3 separate regions of the Homo sapiens genome follow, and all the other regions are linked to region 2. Evidence: promoter capture Hi-C in 16 types of primary human blood cells and fetal thymus (Javierre and others, 2016). All regions are on one chromosome and are shown on one strand. The core of a region is centred on a gene start or on the middle of the fragment in contact, and the rest is flanking DNA. Distances in the headings are between cores, read along the strand shown. Region 1 overlaps TTC9 (tetratricopeptide repeat domain 9). Region 2 holds the start of SIPA1L1 (signal induced proliferation associated 1 like 1). Region 3 has its middle 78 kb from the start of RGS6.

Region 1 (3,106 bases), core at 237-2,736, 670 kb after region 2:
GGCCATGGAATGGAAGTCCTAATCACACAAGGCACGTTCACAGTAAAAGGATGTCTAACTGCCAGAAGGAAAGACTGGAAGATGGGCAAGAGAGTTACCCTAAAAATGTCAAAGCTTGTCTTTGCTACAGAGATGATATATACTCTGTGTTGCTTCAAAGAGTAGAATATTGATGGATTAAAAGAAATTTCAGTGAGACAAGTTTTATTATCTAAGGAAGAAACCCCTAAAGATGGAGGTGGTAGGGTGAATGGCTAAAACTGCAGGCTTTGGAATTACAGACCCAGTGGTTGAGAGATCCCAGTTTGCCATATACCACTATGTGACCATGGGCAAGTGATGTTAACTGTTCCAAGGTTGACTTTTCTGTCTCACAGAGTTGTACAGATCAAATGAAATTATATATACATAAGTTCATGTAAGGCGGGGATCTTGTCCTTCATATTAACTGCTATATACCCAGCCCCCAAGCCTGGAGTCTGGTGTATAATAAGTGCTCAATAAACGTTAATGGAATGATTGAATTTATTGGATCCCTAACAAGAGACAGATGCTGGGAAAAGCATTTTCATTCATTTCAAACACATTTGTGGAACATCTACTATGTGCTGGCCTCATCATGGTAATCCTTTCTGTCATTACTGATACCATTATTATTATAGTTGTTTTGGTGGTGGTGGTTGTCAAAAAGTTTGCTTCAGATGGTGGTGAATATCCCTATGATTGGAAATGCCTAGCTCATGTGGGATGACAAGCTGGTAGTATTGACAGGTGAATCCATGTACCTATATAGGGTTTGGGGTCATATCCAAATCCAAAATCAAAATTCTGATTTTACAGAAATCTTGAGCTTGTTAGTACCACTTCACACTTTTGCTGGGGATATGACATTGTACGTCTGTATAAGATAGTGAGCTTTACAGTGGTAATAAATAATTCCAAGGCCATATAAATACCACAGTTAGGCTAAACTCCTTTAATCCCTGCAGCATTATCTTTGTTTTTTTTAAGTCTGGTACCATTGTCCGAGCTAGACCTTAGAGTTGCTGCTCCGTGTCTGGGCCACACTAATCATCTGGGTGAAACGGAAAATTTTGTTCCAAATATGGACATCTGCCTTCCCAAAGGGGCTTAGGAAATCTCTAGTTGGTTGATTGAAACATTCAGTTTTCATCCTAGCTGTTTGGAGTAGGCACAGTCTGGTGGTGAAAGAGAACAGCTGTGAGGAGAGGATTTCCTTATAGTGAATCTGGAGGTCACCCACAACCAGTGAAAGCTCTGGGAGCTGCTTTTGGCTGCTCCACATCTTGGCCTTCCTGTCTGCTTTGCAGATGAATTTCCTTGCCTTGGAGGGGGCACTCCCATGTATTTTGGCTGTAGGGACTCTGATTTCAAGATGTCCTAAAGAGTTCCTGGCTAAAAGCCACCTGACTTATTTCCCTTGGAGGTGGACTAAGGAGCTTCCAAATCCACTTTAGGAACTCAGCCCAGTGTCTAAATTTGTAATGTTCTTCCCAGTACCTTCCTTGAAAGCATTCTGCAAGTTTCAATTCTCACTTTCTTCCTTGGAAGAAGGTATTACAAGCCCCATTTACTTGACCCTTAAGATTTATTGGTCAAGGTGCTACCTAAGGAACAGCCCCAGGTCAACAACAGCTTAGCCAGTCAAGCTCTCCCATCGGGATGGCAAGATCTTGGCTGAGCATCTTGACATGAGGCCTATATTCTTTTCCCTTCTTTTGACCAATCCTTACCCTAGGAATTCATCCTCTGATTGCAAGGTTACTGCTTGTCTCTAGCCCCTGACCTCCTTTTCACCACTGAGTTTTTAAATTTGTAACTCATCCATCTTTACACCAACATCTGTTGAATACCCTTTGTTCTTAGACTCTGCCTTAGAGTCTGTATCCAATTTTGTCCACCTCAGATGTATCCATCCAGCCATCTTCTGGTGTCCCATTGAGGGCTGGCTTCAAGGGTGGGCAACTTGTGCTGTTGCATAGAGCCCCACACTCAGAAGGAACCTGTACTTCATTTAATACTCTGCTATTGCCTTCTTGAAATTCTTAGTCACTTTATCTTTAAACTTGTGTTTTGTTTAAGTGAAGTCTGATGGGACAACACAGCATGAGCAGGGACAGAGGAGATGGGCACAATACCACTCTCTGCTGCCCCATTTGCATATAGCATTCACAATGCCCCAGGAGCAAAGAATTCTAGGAGCCCCATGATGCGTGAGAGTTCATCAAGACTTAATTATGCCCATAACTAAATGAATATGCTGCCAGTCCCAAAGGGCCATTCTTTCCATTCAAACTAGAAATGGCTTCAAACATGGACAAAAAAAAATGTTCTCAGAAACACAAATAATCTAGGAACCCTATCATATCCTTTCCTACCTATGTTGCTTTCCCATATTAGCCAACCACTCATGCTGAAAATGATGACACAGAAGGAAAGGGTAGGGTCACGTGTATTCCCTTTTCCTTTCCTGGCTCATCTGAAAGCCTGGTGGAAAGTGCACATATGAAGTATGCATATAAAGTACACATATAAAAAAGTGAAATAAAAATAGTTTAGTTTATTTGGTGCAGCATTTCCACTGTTCTAGTAAGAATAAATACATATGCATGTATGAGCTACAGAAGTATAAATTGTATAATTTTTATAATTCCTCATATAAGTAAAGTGTTCCTATAAGTTCATTTAAAACTGGCACCACACATCATAAAGAATAGTAAAATCTATGCTAATAATTAAATTTTAAAATTTTTTATTTGCAATGACATCAAATAGCAAATGCAAAACACCATGTCAAGTCAAGAGAAAGAGAGAACAAAAGAAAGAGAAAAGCTTTATCTTTCAGGATCTTTAGCGACACTTCCTCCCTGCCTTTTCAACAAAGAGTCCTACATTTCATTTCATGCTGGGCCCTGCAAATTATGTGGCTGGCTCTGATCCCATGGCTTTAAGACGTGTCCACAAGCACTGAAAAGCAAAGCTTGTTTCAAACCAGCACCATCCCAGGCATTTCCCAGTGTGACTTCCTTCTAGGCCTTGCCACATCCCTATCCCAAGGCTTCAATTGGGATCAATGGATATTAGC
Region 2 (2,995 bases), core at 381-2,880:
AATTTGCATCACATCGCTGGCTCCAGTTTAGAAACATGATCGTTTCACAGGTAGTATGCATTTCAGCGAATGCTGCCTCTAAACTACCCGTCAGGAAAAATAAAATCTATAAGGTAATCGTAGTCTAGGAGCCATCAATCCCCAAATGCTTCTCTTAGAAAACGAATGCCAACAATTTAGCTAAACATCTTCCTTGGAAGTGAGCCATTTCCCATGTCTCTCTGTTCTCCAAACCGCGATGAAATTTCAACCTGCCCAACACGATTACTGGTCCACCTAGAAATGCCGTGGAGCGATTTAAGAGCCTCGGAAATTTCCTTTAAGGTCAGGAGAGAAGCTGGTAACAGATGGGGCGAAGGAGGAAAAGTTCTTTTTGCGGCACCCTCACGCCTTCCCAGCCCTTTCGCGGTTTACTCGCTCCCCGGAAAGCAGGTTAGAGCATCCCAAAATTTCATGTCCCCAAGACCCCCAAAGGGGAAATTAACCACCCTCGGGCACCGAGCTGTTCGTCTCCATTTCCCACAACTCAACCAACTCGGCCTGCCTACTCCAGCTCAGGCTGCAAAGCGCTCACCCAGGTGACTGGAGGGGAAGGGTCGCCAGGTGGCGACCAGCTCAGCGGGGTGGACGCAACCGCCCGGACCGGGACGCGGGTCTCCTGGCCTCCCGCAGAGACGCCTGCCCAGTAGTTGTGCAGATTCGGGTTCTGGGGTGCGTGCGCGCGCGCCGGGCGCGGTGAAGCCGGACTCGCCCCCGCCGGGCTAAGCTACCAGCAAGCCACCAAATCGAAAATCAAACTTTAACCGGCCTCCTGGGGTCCTGCTCCGGGCCCTGGACCCCAACCCCGGCCAGAAACAGGGCAGGGGGCTGTCAGCCGTCCTGCACCCCCGCTCCCCCCAGGACCCGGGCGCGGGGACCACTTACCGCTCGGCCCGGCCTCCCGGTGCCGCCGCGCGTCCCGGGCGCGTCCGCCGCGCGCTCTCCCTGGGGAGAAAGAGAAACCGTGTAGACGGCCGGCGCGCGCTCACTCGCCGCCTCCTCTGCGGAGAGCGGCGAGGCCGGCCCGAGGCGGGCGCCGAGCGCGGAGCGGAGGGGGGCCCGAGGGAGGCGGGGGTGGAATCAGCCCAATTCCCGAGGCTGGCTCCGAGGGGGACCCGGAATACAGGCTGGCGGGGGGCCGGCGGGGGCCGAGCTCCCGGAGGAGGGGAAGGCGGAGGTGGCCCCGTCCTTGGGCATCAACTATTGTCTAGGCGCCCGGGCCCCCGCTCGCGCCGTCCCCGAGGCTCAGCGCCCCCATCCCGCCCGCCAGCAGAAAGAACTGAGGGGGCGGCCAGTACGGGAAGCAAGTGCGGGGGTCCGGGCTCCGAAGGTCCAAGGTGGGCGCGAGGTTGCCGGGGGGGGGATGAGGAGGTGCGTACCGCATGGGGGAGGGGACAGGTAAGTGCGGACGGGGGCGGGAAGGCCCCAACGACCGGTGGGGGAGGAAATGGGGAGGGAGCCACAGAGGCGGGAGGGAATGGAGTGGCTGCGGGGGCGGCCTCTGGGGCCCAGACCTGGCCCTCCCCGGGGACCCTCCAGCCGGGGACTCGGCGCTGCACTGACTTTTCGCTCACTCGCTCACGCACGCACTGAACTCGCTCACAAAGTTGCCGGCAGTGGCGGCGCCTCACTCGCCCTTCCCCTCCCCGCCCCGCCTCCCGCCCCATTCCTTCCCCTCCTTCACTCCTCCCTCTCCCCCAAGTCTCGGGTGAGATCACCACGGAGCGGCTTAGCGCGGCGCACAAGTCTCGCGAGAGAAGCGGCGGCTGGGCCCTGCAGGCGGAGGAAGTGGAAAAAGTCGCGGGAGGGTAGGGGACCGCGGAACTTCTGGTTGCTATGACGACGGCAAAGCCCTGGATTCCTGTCTCCTGCGGAGAGCAGAGGCTGCAAACGTGGGTGCAGTTTTCAACCTGCCCGGCGCACTGGCGGTGGGGAAAGCTAGGGGTGGTTGCGGAAGGATAATTTTTAAGCCGATTCAAGAGGGCATCTCGAGAGGACCACAGTCATGATATCTGGCCAAATTTGGCAAATGAGACTAATGTATTAAGAGGTTCTGGGACAGGTTTCTGCCTTTCTAGGCAGCACATATCTGCACCCCAAATTTCTACTATATATTCAGTTTTTCGGCCTTCTCTTTCAATCTAATTCCTCCATCCCCACACTCCCCATGCTGCCTCCCTCCTCCTCTTCTCAACTCGCAAACACACGCAGACTGGGCTCCTTCAGGAACTGGCTCATTCATCTCTGTATTCTCAGCGCCTCTATAGGCTTGGTCCATACTACATATTGGCCACTTTTTTGACAAGTTGAACGCAACAGTCCATGCCTGTCCTCAGTACTTGCCTTTGGCCCTAACCTAGAGAGTTCAGTCAAGTTTGGACTCTATCAAGCTACCCTCCCATTTCTGTTAACACCTTGTCTTTTTCAATGGTAATAATCTCTGCTTTCTCCATATTTTTCTCGTAAAAACCCTATTCACCATGGTGAGGGGAACTTTTTTTTTAATCATTAGGCATCCGCAGACGCCTTTATACGTACTCCAAAATGCTAGTAAGGATGAAGATGAACTCTCCTCAGCCCGTGTCTTTTAACTGTAGAAACTTTTCTGAGGTGAGGGTTATTATATACTCACTGCCTAAGTAAAATGGATATTATGAATAGAAGTTAAACTTTAGATTTCAAAATGAATGAGTAAAAATAGATACCATTGTATGTGGATTATATCTCAATTTTTAAAATTCCTATCCATGAACATGGGGAAACCATTATTTAACTCAGTCCCACAGAACTAGAAACCTAAAGCATAACCTAAGCATATGAGGACTAGGCAGTCAAAACTTGTAAGTCACTTGCAAGTTTAAATCCTGTCAATGAAAGTTTGTGTATTAGAAACCTAAGTGATACTAGACAAAGTCAGCAAACTAGGGTTTACGTTTTTCTGTGCCACTAATAATTG
Region 3 (3,401 bases), core at 50-2,549, 530 kb before region 2:
TCCTTGGGCAGGTCTTGCTGTGGCTGCTGTGGGGTATGGGGGTGATGTTGCAAGGTCAATAGAGTAGTGTACCTAGCAGGATTATGGCTGCCTCTGCTGAGTCATGCAGGTTGTCAGGGAAGCGGGGGAAAGCCAGCAGTCACCAGCTTCACCCAGCTCCCACGCAAACCGAAGGGCCGATCTCACTCTCACCGTGCCCCTTCTAACAGCATTGTTTCTCTGCTCAGTTACACTACTATTGGCTGTTCTGGAAATCAGCAAACCAGTCAAATATGTTGTGTTCAATAGTTCCCTGGGGTTAGCAGACGTGGGCACACCTTAAAAACACAGTCAAGGTTGTCTTCAGCAACCTGTACCAGTCCTTTCTCTCTTCTGGTCCATCTGAAGTAGGTATTTTGTTTACAAATATTTCTCCAGCATCACACTCAGGAAATCTAAGATTAAATAAAAACTAAAAAGATGGTATTTCTGAAACATATTTCCTATAACATGTCCATCAAACAGAGAATGAAGAAATTGGAAGGATGAAAATGGAAGGAGGGATGGGGCATCAGTTGAGACAGAATGGGGGGTGGTACATTTTATGAATCCTCATTCCTACAAAATGAACCGCAAAGGCAGAGGCTTCTGTGTCTCTTGTATCTCCCCACATGCCCATCATGCTTTTTAAAAATCAGGCATTAAGAATTTGGGAATAGAAGGGACATTCATTTATTAAACATCATCTAAAATCAAGAGTCTAATCTTTAAAAACCTTCTTCAGTGGAGGGAGCTCACAGCCCTCTGACATGGGGGGAAGCTTATCTTCAGGCACACAAAATGGCAGAGGCCAGCAGGGGGCAGCAGCACAGCAGGAATATTGAGGCAAGCCTGGGGTATTGGGATGCAGCCAATGAAAAGTTGGCCAACAGGAAAATCATTGTCCTCTGCCCTTGGAAGAGCTTGATTAGAACCTGGAGCTTCACATAATAATCAAGATAAGAAATTTGGTGAAGTTCAATTTTCTTTTAAATTTTTGTCATGAAAAATTTCAAACACACACACACAGAATTAAAGAGAAAAGTATAGTGAACCAATATGTCCATTCCCCAGATTCATCATTATCAACATTCTGCCATACTTCCTCACCTGAACCTATTTTCTTTCTTTCTTTCTTATTTTAGAGACAATTGGAGTTTTAAATTTTAAAGTGTGTGTTCTTTCAAGGTGAGATTTGGTGAGTAGTCAAGCTCTAGTATAGTCCCACACTGCCATGAAGGACGTAAGCTCCTTTTATCCTTCTGCTCTGACACCCTTAGGTTACCTCATGGTGGCAAGATGGCAGCTGCACTTCTGGGAATCACATCCACATCCCAGGCAGAAGGCTGGGTGTAGTGGCTCATGCCTGTAGTCTCAGCACTTTGGGAGACCAAGGCGGGCAGATCACTTGAGATCAGGAGTTCAAGATCAGCCTGGTCAACATGGTGAAATCCTATCTCTACTAAAAATTCAAAAATTAGCTGGGCCTGGTGGTGGGCGTCTGTAATCCCAACTACTCAGGAGTCTGAGGAGGGAAAATCACTTGAACTCGGGAGGCAGAGTTTGCAGTGGGACTCCATCTCAAAAACAAACAAACAAAAAAACAACCATTCCAGGCAAAAAGAAGGAAGACCCAGGTTAAAAGGCAAATGTTAAAAGGCTACTTTCAGCATGAGAGAAAAAGACAGGGTGCTGGGGGAGCAGTAAAATTCAGGGACCACCACATGGAAATTCTAATTCAGCACCAAACAAATGTGAAGCTCAGAGGTAAGATAAGCTTAAAAAGCCACCTATGAAATAGGAGAGAATACTAGGAAGTCCAGCTCAGGAAAAATGCAACTGACATTTGTGTATCACTTCTTATAGCTTGCGATGAGATCAAGACTATACATGTTATCTCATTAAATTTGTCACAGCAACCCAATCGAGTAGGTTAAATAATTTTACAGATGATGAAATGAGACCTCAAGAGACCTCGTAACTTTCTCAAGGCTACAGAGCTGGTAAATAGTGGGTCCAAAATGATCTGCTCCTTATTGTCCTAATTTCCTTATTACTGATTCTTTCAGAGATATAATATGTGTTCCTCATGAAAAAAATCTGTAATCCTCACCATCGAAGGCCACTACTGCATATACTTGATTCCAAACCAGGAGCACAAAGGTGCGCATTCTTCTCGGGTCCATTGCAGTACACTGTTCAGCAAGCTGCAGTCCTAGCTGCGCCTTTAGTACGGGGGAAGCGGGGGTCCTGGATGAGGGTCTGGGCTGGGATGAGAGACCCTCATCCCCCAGCTCAGACACATCTGCTTTAAGAAATGGCTCACGCCTGTAATCCTAGCACTTTGGGAAGCCGAGGCTGGTGGATCATGAGGTCAAGAGATTCAGACCATCCTGGTCTACATGGTGATACCCCGTCTCTACTAAAAATACAAAAAAAATTAGCTGGGCGTGGTGGCGCATGCTTGTAGTCCCAGCTACTCGGGAGGCTGAGGCAGGAAAATTGGTTGAACCCGGGAGGCAGAGGTTACAGTGAGTCAAGATAGCACCACTGCACTCCAGCCTGGTGACAGAGCAAGACTCAGTCTCAAAAAAAAAAAAAAAAAAAGAAAGAAAAAAGAAATGGAGTAAAACTTCCTTGAAGCCACTGCTCTTCCGCTCTTTCCAATAAAAGGAAATGCACGTAGATCCACTGGGCTCAGAGTGACCTCCTGTCAAGGACTTCTAAATTGTCTTCAAAGATGGAAAATATTGCTTTGTACACAGCTCTTGGGATGGATTAATCATGAGCTGAATTTCACATAAAAGCAGAGACAAGAGACTTGATGCAGTCCAACATTCTTCCTTAACTTTTTTATTAAGAAAGTTTTCAAAAGTACACAAAAGAAAAGAGAATAATATAAAAAAACTCAATACACCCATCCTTGGATTCAACAATTATTCACTTTTTGCTCCAGTTGCTTCATGTCTTCCTTTTGGTCAGCCTTCTTTTTTTGTGAATATTTCTTAAAATCCCTGTCATCAGGCCATTTCACCCCAAAGTCCTTCCATATATCTCTCTAATAGACTTTTTATGTATAAACACAAAACCTTTATCACAATCAGTGGTATTAATACTCACTTTATATTCAAATTTTCGGCTGAGCATGGTGGCTCATGCCTGTAATTCCAGCACTTTGGGAGGCCGAGGCAGGTGGATCATTTGAGGTCAGGGGTTCGAGACCAGCCTGGCCAACATGGTGAAACCCCGTCTCTACTAAAAATACAAAAATTAGCCGGGTATGGTGGCGGAAGCTAGTAGTTCCAGCTACTTGGGAGGCCGAGGCAGGAAAATCACTTTAACCTGGGAGCCAGAGGTTGCAGTGAGCCGAGATCATGCCATTG

What was found. The method cuts DNA at HindIII sites, captures the fragments that hold promoters and counts their contacts. A CHiCAGO score of 5 or more calls a contact.
Region 1: a contact is called between a fragment that was not itself captured here and the fragment with the promoter of SIPA1L1 in region 2, in 1 of 17 cell types (neutrophils). The highest score is 5.3, in neutrophils.
Region 3: a fragment that was not itself captured here is called in contact with the fragment with the promoter of SIPA1L1 in region 2 in 3 of 17 cell types (endothelial precursors, fetal thymus and erythroblasts); the score reaches 6.5 in endothelial precursors.

The regions. Positions count from the first base shown.
Region 1 is chr14:70,646,745-70,649,850 of GRCh38, reverse strand. All of the region lies in intron 1 of TTC9 (tetratricopeptide repeat domain 9), which reads right to left. Among named protein-coding and RNA genes, the nearest start is that of TTC9, 6.4 kb to the right of the region's middle. The HindIII fragment of the contact is 2,739 bases long and covers 117-2,855 here.
Region 2 is chr14:71,319,111-71,322,105 of GRCh38, reverse strand. SIPA1L1 (signal induced proliferation associated 1 like 1) reads right to left here and starts at 1,630. Exons shown (of 24, transcript NM_001386936.1): 1 at 1,603-1,630; 2 at 925-984. SIPA1L1-AS1 (SIPA1L1 antisense RNA 1) reads left to right here and starts at 258. Exons shown (of 4, transcript NR_184180.1): 1 at 258-432. RefSeq lists a silencer at 712-1,731 and an enhancer at 1,992-2,151. The HindIII fragment of the contact is 21,627 bases long and covers 1-2,995 here.
Region 3 is chr14:71,853,036-71,856,436 of GRCh38, reverse strand. No RefSeq gene overlaps it. Among named protein-coding and RNA genes, the nearest start is that of RGS6, 78 kb to the left of the region's middle. RefSeq lists an enhancer at 106-175. The HindIII fragment of the contact is 996 bases long and covers 802-1,797 here.